3 separate regions of the Homo sapiens genome follow, and all the other regions are linked to region 1. Evidence: promoter capture Hi-C in 16 types of primary human blood cells and fetal thymus (Javierre and others, 2016). All regions are on one chromosome and are shown on one strand. Each heading gives the region's core, a stretch centred on a gene start or on the middle of the fragment in contact. The rest is flanking DNA. Distances are from core to core; before and after follow the strand shown.

Region 1 (3,783 bases), core at 1-2,500:
CTCAGAAACCCCCATTCAAGGTCCCCATTAGAGCTCAAACTGGCTCAGGAAATCCTTTTCCCAAGTCCTGAATCCCGTTCCTGGGACAGGGAGGGTCTCAAGGAGTCCCATCCCCCACCACCAGCACCCTCCGGAGCCTCCCACCCACACCTGAATTCACTTCCTGGGATCAGGGTACAAAAAGGACCTCCCCATACACGCCATTCCATTCCCCACTAGTGCTAAAATGTCTCCAAGGAACCCCGAGCCCCCTCCCAGGACCCCTACTCATATCTCAGGCCCCCAGGAACACCATCCCCGCAGCCCACGCTCCCTCCTCACCTACCTGCTCCTCTCAGCTCCTGAAGTGGCCGCAACTCAGACTCAGGTTCGGGCACCCTCTCGGCTGCCTAGGCTCCTGCTCTGGAGCGGTACTTTTTTTTTTTTCCTGAGAAGAAATGTTAATTTTAATTTCGTTTCCCTCCTTCTGGCCCTGGGCGGGGGAAGAGGTGGAGAAGGGGCGCCCCCTATCTGGACCCACTTGGAGGGAGACAGCGGTTTGTTTGTGTGTTGATGGTGGGGGAAATGGCCTGAAAGATTGAGGGTGTAGACCCACAGCTAGAGAGAGTGACAGGCAGACAGAGGGGATGGACTCACAGAGCAGACGGACAGCAGGATGGGATGGATGGCAGAAAAAGGTGCAGAGAGGAGACAGAGAGAGAGTAGGAGAACTGAAGTTACAAAGAAAGCAGGCATGAGAAACAGCACAGGAACAGACAGACCACAGAAGGGACAGAAAGACAGATGGGCGGGAGGAGGGGATGCTAGGGGAGCTTGGAAGACAGGCAGAGACAGGGAGAAAGGGACACACAGGCAGACTCAGAAACAAACAGGTGGGTAGGGATAGGCTCGTGGAAACACCTGCAGAAAGGCAACAGGCAATTGGGCTCAGTCATAGACAGGAGACACAGGCTGGCCAAGAGGTGGGGGACAGAGCCAGACAGCTCCCCAAACAGAGGGTAGGACCAGACACACCAGCTCAGAGAGATGAAGGGGCAGAGAGAGTGGTTGAGGCAGAGAGACTCCTGGAGGGACAGGAGAAAAGAGGCAGAGAGAGGCAGATTCAGGCAGAGAGGCCTGGGGACAGCAGGGGAACAGGTGCAGGGGTAGTAGCCAGGCTATTCCAGGCAGACCTCAGGCAGACAGCCTAGGCACGAGAGGACCCTAGATCTTGGGGGCCCCCAGAGGGAGGCAGGGAGGGCATTTGTGGCTGGGTGGGGAATGTGGACTGTGAACTCACACTGTCCGCAAACTGGGCGGGCACTGTAGTCCTGGACCCCACCCCAAGCGTGGGGTGGGGCTTGTCCAAGCCCTGAGAAGTCCCACTATCTGTCTGTCCGTCTGTCTTCTATGGGAGTCCGTCTGTTCACTCCCCTCCAGGCATATGACAGGCATGCCTGTCCCAGGCAAGCCACGTGTCCGCTACAGGATGTCAGGCAGGGTGGACTTGGGGTCTGGGACCACCTCGACTGGGCTGCTTGAAGCCCAGGTGGACAAGAGGCCTCTGTCTGGGCCCCTCGCCCGCCTGCCCACCCCCGACAGGGAACACAGAATTCCCGGAAAGGCCAGGAGCTGGCTGGGGCTTCAAAGCTGGCCTAGATGCCCTCACCCCACCCACAGTTGGAGGAGGACAAGGGATGGGGCGTTTACTTCCCCACAGCGGGAGAGAGACTCCTGCACACTCAGGAATCGCAGCTACACAACAGGACCCATCACAGCCCCATCAAGGGGCTCAGATACGGGGGCCAACTCGCCATCACTCACAGAGGTGCACAAAGACTCACAGCCACACAAGAGAATAAAGACTGACAGACATGAACACACACAGACTCACCACTGCACGTTAAGAGCAATGGCTCATGGGACAGTCACACACGTGGCCACACAGAGTGACGATAGTCTTACAGCTATCAATACCGACAGGCTCAGAGCCGCTCACAGAGAGCACAGACTAACACAGGGATAGGCTTGTGCCGATTTCCAGACACTCGAGACTCCTGAACCTCACCGCCCGTGGACCCACAGCCATGCCAAAGACAATCAACAGGCAAATCACACACACAGATTCACAGCCACACACAGAGCACACAATTACACACAGCTGATGACATTGTGTGTGGGTCCTGGGTCTTTCCCACACACACGATCCAGGTTCAGATGGCCCTGGATCTGAACCTGAATCCAGGTTCAGATGACCCTGGAGGCAAACTTCCAGGTTCAAGCCCTAAAATGATATCTCTGTGTATGTGAACTTGAATGTGCACTTGTGACCACATGTAACCACATACAGCTCCAGTCACAGAGAGAGGCACTCATAGGCTGACATGATTTTTGTACAAACAGAAAAGCCATAGTCTCCTTCTCTCTCTCTCTCCTCTCTCTCTCTCTCTCACACACACACACACACACAACTGCATTTCAGCAAATGGCTGCACACAGCCGTGTACACACACAGCTAGTCACAAATCAAGTCAGAAAAGAAACATATAGGGAAAGCATATACCTGCACACAAACACAAAGCACAGGAATGCAGAGTACGCTTACTATCGTTGCAAAGAAAAAATCCAGAAACCACACTGAAAGCTACACAAGGAAAAAACAAGAGAACCAGATAGTACTCATACCATGGCACCAGAAGAAACACCCCGAGGGCACACATACCTGCAGCCACTCGCTAAGAAGAGACACAAATACAGCAGCAGACACACAAAGAAAGATACGTGCGCATAGATACACATATAGGAGGGACAAGTACTCTGACACACTTGTCACCCACGACCATTACAAAGGAGACAAACACCCAAGCAACACACACACACAACAACATATAGATGAACTGCACCGACAGACAGTACCAATGCACACGGTTGCCAAAAAAAAAAAAAAAAAAAAGGTATGAGTTGGGCCGGGTGCAGTGGTTCATGCCTGTAATCCCAGCACTTTGGGAGGCCAAGGTGAGTGAATCATGAGGTCAGTAGTTCGAGACCAGCCTGGCCAACGTGGCGAAACCCCGTCTCTACTAAAAATACAAAAAAAATTAGCTGGGCGTGGTGGCGGGTTCCTGTAATCCCAGCTACTCGGGAGGCTGAGGCAAGAGAATTGCTTGAACCTGGAAGGCGGAGGTTGCAGTGAGCCAAGATCGCGCCACTGCACTCCGGCCCAAGCGACAGAGTGAGACTCCATCTCAAAAAAAAAAAAAAAAAAAAGCACAAGTTTGGCAGGCGGCCATAGACAGAACGCAGCACCAGGCAAGTTACATAGGAAGACGCAGGCACAGCTCACATACGTGTGGCTGTGGCTGAGAACGGGCAGGTGAGATACACTCAGCATATTCACACACACGTGCGCACACACTCCTGCCCAACCTCCTCCAGCCTCTGTCTCCTTTCCTATCTACTCTGATTTCTCTCTCCCCTCATACCCCTCCCCCACCCAGAGCCATTACACATCTGTGCTACCAGCTGGCCAGGGAAAGAGACACCTGTCACTAGAGGCTTTGACCCAGATGGCTAAAGGTCGGGGGGTGGGGGGGATGCAGGTATCCATATTTCAAGTCTGAAGTGTCCCGTCCAAATAACTAGCATACTTTATTTGGATTTAAAAAAAAAAAAAAAAGACAACCCCCCTCCCCTCTGCATCCATTCGCCGCCTCCCTGCCACAGCCTCCTGCTCTGATTGCTCCCCTTCCCTCCCAGGGCCTGCCTCTACTGGCCTTCCAACATGGACCAACACAGGGCTACCAG
Region 2 (4,681 bases), core at 986-3,485, 800 kb after region 1:
TCAAGGTCTACAAGGGGGCTGGTGTGGTTAGTGTGGAGAGAGCAAGAAGAGAAGCTGGAGGTGAGGTCAGAAAGGGGACTCGGAGGTTAGACCACGCAGGACCTTGTAGGCCATGGTAAGGACTTTGGCTTCAACGCTGAGTGAGGAGGAAGGCATGACAGGGTTGCAAGCAGAGGAGAAACACAAACCGTGTTAGGATTTAACAGGAAGCCCCTGAATGCTGAGTGTACAATGGGGTCTAGGGCCTGAATGTGGAAGCAGGGGACCAGCAAGGAGCTGGCTACTGCAGTAGTCTAGGTGACTGGTGATAGTGCTGGCAGTGGAGGTGGTGAGAAGAGGATGGATTTGGTAAATATTTTTAATAGACAGCCAAAAGGATTTGTTGAAGACTGAGAGTCTTGGAGCCAGATCGGGACAGACAATGCCCAAACCAGGTGGGCAGGAAGGAGTCCCTGGACTATTTGCCAGCTTGAACTTTTAGGTGAGAAAAAAATAAAGTTCTGTCTTGCTTAAGCCCCCATTATTTTATGATTTTTCTGTTACTTGCAGCTGAACATATTCATTTCTAACTCATGGACATCCTGAACATGGAGACCTGGGGAGAGGGGCTGCTGGAAGGATCACCTCCCTCCTAGGATGCTGTGAGGTTCTAATGAGATAACAGCATGCTCAGAACCTGGCACTCAGTAGGTGTTCAGTAAATCTTCCCAGGATGGAGAAGGAATGTATGAATGGATGTGTTCAGCGGACAAAAGCTGCAGTTGAGTTCCCACAGAAGGTGAGACCCCAAAGGGAGAGCGAAAGGAGTTTACTAGATGGAAGCAGCAGAAGGAACAGCACTCTTGGGAGAGGGAACAGTAGAAGCAGAGATGGGGGGACAGAAAGAAGGGAGGTGAGGCCCCTGTGGGGTGTGGAGTGTCAGGTTGGGCAAGAAGGACAGGGCTTTGATTGTGATTCCATTAGTCAGAAGCTACCCATATGCCCAATCAACTTCTGGTAGCACACAGTCAGGTCAGTGTTTGCTGAGCTGAAATTTAAAAAAGTGAATCCTTCAGAAAGTTAAATTTCCTATTCGGCCATTCATTCAACAATAGTATCAAGTCCTGGAGAGTGCTTGCGGCTAACAATCAGGGGCATTCTTGGCTTGTGGCACTGCTCAAGAAAAGGTTGTAGTTGGGCAGGGAGGACCCAGTAAGTAACTAACTGCAACAGGACAGTCATTTTCACTTTCCTAGTTCACACACCAAGGTGTGGTCTAGGCCTTCAGGGGCTCTGGGTATTCCTGGGGCAATGGGGAGTCACGGAGGGTTAGGGAGAGGGTAACCCCATCCCTGAGAAGCACATTTTTCCTAATGGCTGCCTGCGTTCTATGGTTCTGCTGTCCGGCCACCCAATACCTCAGACTCTGTCTACACAGCGTCCTCCTCTCCAGCCTCCTTATTGGCTACTCATGCCTCCCTTCACACCACCTACACTGCCCCCGTCGGCTCTGCTTTTTTCCCCATCTTGCCTCCAAGTCCTCCCTCCGTCCCGCTGCACTATCTAGCCTCGGCATTGGCTCATCCCATACTAGTACTGTCCTTTGAGGTCTCTACGCCTTCACCCTGGCTCCCTCATTGGCTATCCGCCAGCTCTCGTCCTCGCTCCCGCCTTCAGCCTCCACCTCCATTGGCTCGGCTCCCTACACACCCGCCTCTTGGTCTCCTTTTAGCCTTCGTATTGGCTAGCTCCACCTTGGCACCACCCCTTCGAAGCCGCAGTGCACGCTCACAAGCCTCCCCATTGGCTCGCTGCAGCCATTGTCGTCATCCCACGCGTGGCTCTCCATTGGCTGTTCTCTCTCTCTAGCTACCGTTCCACCGCCTACGCAACCCGCGGGATCTCCCACTTTTTGGGCCTCTGCGTTCGTTCCCGGCTGCCCTCATCGCCTGTAGCCATTCCACTTTTCCCACCGCCCACATGCCTCTCTCGCTCAGACTTCCGCATTAGCTGTCTGCTTCTGTTTTCTTCATCATGGATTTCGCACCACCCCCATTCCGGCCTCTCCATTGATTCCTCGATCATCCCGCCCCCTACACCGCCCACTCCCGGGCATCCCCATTGGCTGCGTGCTTCTCCGGCTCTCAATTCGCTGTACGTCATCCGTGCATGGCTGCCCATTGGCCCTCTGCAATACTTGTCTTCATCTCACCGCCTATGCCCCCGTGAGCCGTACCCCTCCGCGCTGGCCTTCCCATTGGCTGCCCGCCCCTTCAGGCCCTGCCCCCGCCGGTCCCGCCGCCGGTGCCGTCGGTGCCGCCGCCGCCGCCGATATGGCGCGTACGGCCCCTGTGGAGCCCCCGCTGCGGCATTCCGCGCCCCCCTCGCCGGCCGCGGGTGAGCCCCGCACCTCGGTCGAGGCGGCGGTGGCCCCGCGGAGGGTGCTGTTCGCCGACGAGGCCTTGGGGCTGCCGCTGGCGCAGTTGCGCCGCTACCGGCCGTGGGGCGGGCCCGGGGCGGGCAAGATGGCGGCGGCGGCCGGGCAAGATGGCGGCGGCGGCGGCGGGGCCGACGAGGACGACGATGGCGAGGATGGGGATGAAGGGGAGGAGGAAGAGGAGGCTTGCCCCGAGCCCTCACCGCTGTGCCCCGTCCCCGCTGGCGGGGGGTTTTACCTGGTCCCCACATTTTCGCTGCCGCCCGCGCCGGGCCGTCTGGAGCGCTTGGGGCGCGTCATGGTGGAGCTGGAGGCGCTGCTGCCGCCTCCCGGAGCGGTCCCCGGGGGTGCCGGGGTGTGGGTGCCTGGGGGCCGCCCGCCGGTGCTGCGCGGGTTGGTACGCGTGCTGAACCGCTCCTTCGAGAAGGCGGTGCACGTGCGGGCCTCACACGACGGCTGGGCTTCCTTTTGCGACCACCCAGCGCGCTACGTCCCGCGCAGCCCGCCGTGGGCAGGAGCGGGAGGAACAGGAGCAGGAGATCCCATCCTGGATCCGGGGCTCGGCCTGGGTCCCGGCCAGGCATCCGCCTCCTCGCCCGACGACGGCGGCCGCACCGACCGCTTTGCCTTCCAGCTGCCCTTTGCTGAGGGCGCGGGCGATGGGGCGCGCCTCGACTTCGTGGTGCGCTATGAGACCCCTGAGGGCACTTTCTGGGCCAACAACCACGGCCGCAACTACACAGTCCTGCTCCGGATCGCACCCGCTCCCACACCCACTGATGCCGAAGGGCTGCCCCAGCAGCAGCAGCTGCCGCAGCTGGAGCCACAGCCCGAGTGCCAGGGTCCCGTGGAGGCTGAGGCCAGGCAGCTGAAGAGCTGCATGAAGCCGGTGAGGCGCAGGTAATGTCAGCCAGCGCCACCTCCGCCAACGCAGGGCTGTGTCTGGGATGGAGGACAAGCATTCCGGCCCAGGAACCCCTCAGGCCTGCTCTCCAGGACAGGGAGGAGGGTGCATTGAGTCAGTCAGTCAAAGAGTGATGGAGGTCAAACACGTGCTAGGCACTGTTTTAACTGGGGTTTTATTCCTCCATTTATTGAGTTCCACTGTAAAGCCCTGAACAAGACAGACATCTACCCTACCCTCAAGGATTCATACAGGCTCCTATGGGAGACAGTTTGAAAAAACAAGCAAGCAAGCAGATAGGATAAATAGGGACAAAGTTAGCTGCTGAAGGGAGTAAGGGGATAGATTGGGAGGGAATGACTGTGTCAGACATGCTGTTAAAGGGAGGGCCTTTGAGGAGGTGAGTCCCGAATGATGATAAAGAAGAGTTATGCAGATACGGTGGGGAGGTGGGGGAGAGTTTGTAGGAAAAGGAACAGGGAGGACTTTTCTGAGGAGGTTTCATTTAAACTAAGTCCTGGATGATGAATAACAGTTATGTGCATATATGGAACAAGGGTGTTCTAGGTAGAGGAAACAGCAAGTGCAAAGGTCCTGGGGTGGAAATGAGCTTGGTGTGAATGATCAGCAGTGTGCTGGAGTGGAGAGAACTGCAATGACATAGTGTGGACCAAGGGCTTTGCCAGTGGGGGGTAGAGCAGATTCTCTTTCTGACAGAGCAGGAAACCAGGATTCCAGAGGTGGAGAAACTGGTTGAGGCAGTGATGGCACCTGGCTCTTCCAGTTCACCCATGCCTGACCTTGAAGCCTGTGCACTCTACTGTTAACGCTGTAATCTACTTTTGAGTCCTGTGGAGGCGAGGGGCTGAGCCCATGCTCTCACAAGAAAGCAGTGGCTCTAGCAGAGAGACAGAACCAGATGGGTACTGGACTTGAAGTTTTTGTCCCTTGTTTTTTTGCCACACCACCTGTGATCATTTAGGGACAGGGAGAAATAATCAGTTATACCCCAGGGGGCCCCAGAAGATTTCCCTAGGTTTCCTCTATCAAGCTATGAGTTCTTTAAGGGCAGCAGCTAGTCCTGATTCTTTTTGCGGTCACCTAAGTCTGGCCCAGGATCACTAGATTCTCCCTAAAATGTATACATTTCCCTGTTCCTGGGAGGACTGGGAATGGAAATGGGAAAATGCTTTTTGGACCTTGTATGTATACGCTTGGTCAGAAGCCCCTGGCTGCAGTAAGACATTTGTGGGTTCTGCTGGTTCTGGTAAGGCCTTAGGCTGTGAGTGGTTCAGAAAGGTCTAGCTCCGGTCTGGTGGGCAGATGTGCCTGGGTAACTGAGCAGGCAGGCAGGTACCCAC
Region 3 (4,681 bases), core at 242-2,741, 610 kb after region 1:
CCTATAATCCCAGCTACTCAGGAGGCTGAGGCAGGAGAATTGCTTGAACCCGAGAGGCTGAGATGGCAGTGAGCCGAAATCGAGCCATTGCATTCCAGCCTGGGTGACAGAGCGAGACTCCGTCTCGGGGGGAAGAAAAAGATAAAAACAGAGAGTCCCAGGGTCTCTGCTCTAAGCTCCCAAGATCCCAAACAACATGGCCAGGAACCCTCCTTCTTTCAGGTTTGGCAAGCTCCAGGCCCACACTGACGTGGACCCCACACCTCCTCTTTACATGCTGGCCCTCACTGACTTGTCAGGAAGTAATGTGATAGGGGGTGCCCCCGTGATATCTCCTCCCCACCGCCAGCCAATCTTGATCCCAATGCCAGACATGGCCTGGAACCACTCCCAACCCATTTCTCATCTTCAAACCTGACCTAGCACCGGACTCTCTCAATAAATAGACAAAAGTGGGCTAGGAGATGCACTTCTTGTACCTCCCTGACTTGGCCCTGGGACTGCTATGCTTGGTCTGCCATCCCCAGGAACTCCTCTGCTCATACCCTTCTAACTGTACCCCAACCTATTTGACCACCCCAGAGTCCTCTCACACCTTTCCCCCTCAACCGGCTTCCCCAAACTCCTTCAGGATGCCTACCTTGGGATGACCCCTTCTCATGCCTTGGTAACTACCCTTCAGGGCCAGCCTAGACATTCCCTTAGATTGGCTTATGCCCTGGGGACTCTACCCTAGGATTCCCCCTAGCACTCTAAATTTTCCACCCCTGGGACATCTCCTTCCTTGTGTTCTGCTGTCCTTGACTACAACATAACCTGGCCTGGACCCAACCCCAGGAACCCCCCCCATCCTCCTAAGATTCCCCCTCTAGACCCCTATCCAAGACCCCGCCCCAGGGCACCCTTGCCTTCTAAGACCCTTGCCCAAAACAAACCACCCAAAACTCCTACCTAGGAGAACCTCAACCCCTAAGATGCCTGCGCAGTCCCCTACTAAGATTACTGCCATAGAGCCCCCAACTTCCCTTCAAATCCTCAACTCCCCAATAACTCTGGCCAGACATACTCCCTCCCCCATCCTCCAAGAGTCCAAATCTCCTTCCTTTCTTTCAGTTACACCCTCCACTGGAATGCCTCATGCTCTTTCTTTGGACAGCTCTGCCTTAGAGTTATTCTCTGGACAGCTCCAACTTTCAACACCCCTTTTTTGCACCTCCATTCCAAGACTCTGTCCGGGATGCCTCGCCCCTCTCCCAAGACCAGCCGCATGCTCCTTCCAACGCCAGCACCCACTCAAGACCTCTGCCTTAGACCCCTACTCGAAAGACTTCCAGCCTCCCCCAGACCCAACCAACCCTGGGATCGTGCTCCAGCTTCCTGCCGCCTTCACCGGCCTGACCTCCGCGTGTCCCTGACCCGGGCCCCAGCTGTCGGTGCCGCCCGCGGCCCGGTTTTCTGACCTCCCGGGCCTTGGAGCCCGGCTCGGGTGTTTACATCAGGCCCTACTTCCGGGGGAGGGAGCCTGTCGCAGGAAATGACTCACCCCAGCTGGAAAAAGGCGGCCACCGCCTTCCTCGCCTAGTTCCCGGGTCTTCGGAGCATCGCGAGTGACAGTGGGGTTCTCCGGGGAGGGCGCGGGGAGCGGAGGAAGGTTGGCTGGGGGACCGGAGGCGAAGGGGGTTCCTCAAGGCCGAGACTGTCTGAGGGAACCCGGAAGGGTGGGGAGAGAGAGCGTGCCTTGCCCCCAGCAAAGCGAAACCGGCCAAGCCCTCAGCCCCTTGGTCACCCACAATGGGGGAGTAAACCTTCCCTGCTAACAAGACGCGGACCTCCGCGGCGGCCGAGAGTAGCCGCCCCGGTTCGCAACACACAGTCCTCCCAGGCTTCCAGAGGGGCGGCGCTGGGGGTTACAGGCGGGGGCGGACCTGGAGACCTTGAAAGTGGAGAAACCTCCTTGGCTCCGGGAAGCCAAGGAACAGATTTCGCTTTCTTTCTCCCCACCCTGTCCCCCCAACCCCGCCAGCTCTGAGTTTTGTCTTTTGTGTTTTGTTTAGTTTTGTTTTCTGAGACAGAGTCTCGCTCTGTCTCCCAGGCTGGAGTGCAGTGGCGCGATCTCGGCTCACTGCAACCTCCGCCTCCCGGGTTCAAACGGTTATCCTGCCTCAGCCTCCGGAGTAGCTGGGACTGCAGGCGTGCGCCACCACGCCCATCTAATTTTTGTATTTTTAGTAGAGACGGGGTTTCACCATGTTGGTCAGGCTGGTCTCGAACTCTTGACCTCAGGTTATCCACCCACCTCGGCCTCCCAAAGTGCTGGGATTACAGGCTTAAGCTACCACGCCCGGCCTCTGCTTTTATTTTTACAAAATACAAAATAGCTTTTTGATAGTAAAAGGTATGAATGCTTTGGGTTAAAAAAAAAAAAAAAAAGAGGTCCTACCTATGATAAAGCTTTTAAAAAAAGGCCCCAAATTATATGCATACTGGAAGGAATTTTTTTTTTTTTTTTTTTTTTTGATTAACAGAGTTTGGCTCTTTTTGCCCAGGCTGGAGTGCAATTAGCGCGATCTTGGCTCACCACAACCTCCGCCTCCCGGGTTCAAGGGATTCTTCTGCCTCAGCCTCCCCAGCCTCCCAAGTAGCTGGGATTACAGGCATGTGCCACCACGCCCAGCTAATTTTGTATTTTTAGTAGAGACCGGGTTTCTCCCTGTTGATCAGTCTGGTCTTGAACTCCTGACCTCAGGTGATCCGCCTGCCTCGGCCCCCCAAAGTGTTGGGATTACAGGCGTGAGCCACTGCGCCCGGCTGGAAGGATTTTTAATTAAACTTTACATTAAGAAATAATAAATAGGCTGGGCGCGGTGGCTCACGCCTGTAATCCCAGCACTTTGGGAGGCCGAAGCAGGCAGATCATGAGGTCAGGAGTTCGAGATCAGCCTGGCCAGCATGGTGAAACCCCCTCTCTACTAAAAATACAAAAAGTTAGCCAGGCATGGTGGTGCGTGCCTGTAGTCCCAGCTACTCGGGAGGCTGAGGCAGGAGAATCACTTGAAGCCAGGAGGAGGAGGTTGCAGTGAGCAGAGATCGCACCACTGCACTCCAGCCTGGGTAATAGAGTGAGACTCTGTCTCGAAAAAAAAAAAAAAAGCCGGGCGTGGTGACACGCGCCTGTAATCCTAGCTACTGGGGAGGCTGAGGCAGGAGAACCACTTAAACCTAGGAGGCGGAGGTTGCAGCAAGCCCAGATCCTGCCATTGCACTCCAGCCTGGGAGACGAGCGAAATTCCCGTCTCAAAAAAAAAGGGCTGGGCATGGTGGTGCATGCCTGTAATCCCAGCAATTTGGGAGGCCGAGGCAGGTGGATTGCCTGAGCTCAGGGGTTTGAGACCACCCTGGGTAACACGGTGAAACCTCCTCTCTACTAAAATACAAAAAATTAGCCGGGCGTGGTGGCGGGCACCTGTAAGTCCCCTACTTGGGAGGCTGAGGCAGGAGAATCATTGGAACCCAGAAGGCAGAGGTTGCAGTGAGCCAAGATCGCGCCACTGCACTCCAGCCTGGGCAACAGAGGGAAACCCTGTCTCCAAAAAAAAAAAAAAAAAAAGAATATTCTTGAAAAAAAAGAAATATGCTTTTTGCAGTGGCAGTATCATAGCCAATGAGGTTTAGCCAAGGTGTGGATATTGCTAATTGGAAACTTCCCAATACCCCGCCCCGAAGACTTGCAATATAGTCGGCATTGGCAATTTTTGACAGTCTATGAAGACTGAATATTAAAGAAAAAATACAGAGAAATCTCATACTTTTAATACAATCAGGGTTTCACATTGATGAAATCCCCCCTTTACTTTTTTTGAAGTATTGTTTTGATGCTTCTGTTTTTTCATATATTAATATATAAGAACATCTTTTTAACTCATCCTTTTTAACTGGTTCATGATATTATGTAGCATTGTTCAGCCCTTCCCCAACTGATGGCTGCCTAGGTTGTTTCAGATACTGTGTCGTCAATTCCCATGTATATATTTACTTGTGAATTTTGGCCCTATATACTCCCCTTGGCATGATTCCATTACTGTGCTCCTCAACAAGGCCAATCATCTGGCTTTCTTCAGACTCCACTTCCTCATGTCCCAGACCATATTCAACTCAATTCAATTTGGTGTTTGTCACTCCTGTGTCTTTGGGACTGCTCTTAACCAGACCACTGATGAATAATAATCTTGCCAAACCAGCAATCACTTCTCTGCCCTCTCCTGTGACTTTCTAGTGAAACCCACAATTTCTTCCTCTCACTCTCTTGGTTTTTCTTTTTCTTTCTTTCTTTTTTTTTAAGATGGAGTCTCACTCTGTCACCTAGGCTGGACTGCAGTGGCACGATCTCGGCTCACTGCAACCTCTGCTTCCTGGGTTCAAGTGATTCTCCTGCCTTAGCCTCCTGAGTAACTGAGATTACAGGCATGCACCACCACGCCCAGCTAATTTTTTTTTTTTTTTTTGAGACGGAGTCTCGCTCTGTCATCCAAGCTGGAGTGCAGTGGGGCGATCTCGGTTAACTGCAACCTCCGCCTCCCGGGTTCAAGCGATTCTCCTGCCTCAGGCTCCCAAGTAGCTGGGATTATAGGCATGCACCACCACGCCCGGCTAATTTTTGTATTTTTAGTAGAGACGGGGTTTC

The links. The method cuts DNA at HindIII sites, captures the fragments that hold promoters and counts their contacts. A CHiCAGO score of 5 or more calls a contact.
Region 2: the fragment with the promoter of PPP1R3F here is called in contact with the fragment with the promoter of SLC38A5 in region 1 in 1 of 17 cell types (neutrophils); the score reaches 5.6 in neutrophils.
Region 3: a contact is called between the fragment with the promoter of WDR45 here and the fragment with the promoter of SLC38A5 in region 1, in 7 of 17 cell types (non-activated CD4 T cells, naive CD8 T cells, activated CD4 T cells and 4 more). The highest score is 7.9, in non-activated CD4 T cells.

Annotation. Positions count from the first base shown.
Region 1 is chrX:48,469,010-48,472,792 of GRCh38, forward strand. SLC38A5 (solute carrier family 38 member 5) reads right to left here and starts at 1,251. Exons shown (of 17, transcript NM_033518.4): 1 at 1,173-1,251; 2 at 326-427. The HindIII fragment of the contact is 10,592 bases long and covers 1-3,783 here.
Region 2 is chrX:49,267,558-49,272,238 of GRCh38, forward strand. It overlaps PPP1R3F (protein phosphatase 1 regulatory subunit 3F), which reads left to right and starts at 2,236. Exons shown (of 4, transcript NM_033215.5): 1 at 2,236-3,316. The coding sequence starts at 2,313. RefSeq lists enhancers at 1,325-1,824, 1,522-1,571 and a silencer at 2,272-2,511. The HindIII fragment of the contact is 7,823 bases long and covers 1-4,681 here.
Region 3 is chrX:49,078,396-49,083,076 of GRCh38, forward strand. WDR45 (WD repeat domain 45) reads right to left here and starts at 1,492. Exons shown (of 11, transcript NM_001029896.2): 1 at 1,356-1,492. It also overlaps the pseudogene RNU4-52P. RefSeq lists enhancers at 1,443-1,943, 1,655-1,949 and silencers at 1,655-1,949, 2,192-2,261. The HindIII fragment of the contact is 3,362 bases long and covers 1-2,449 here.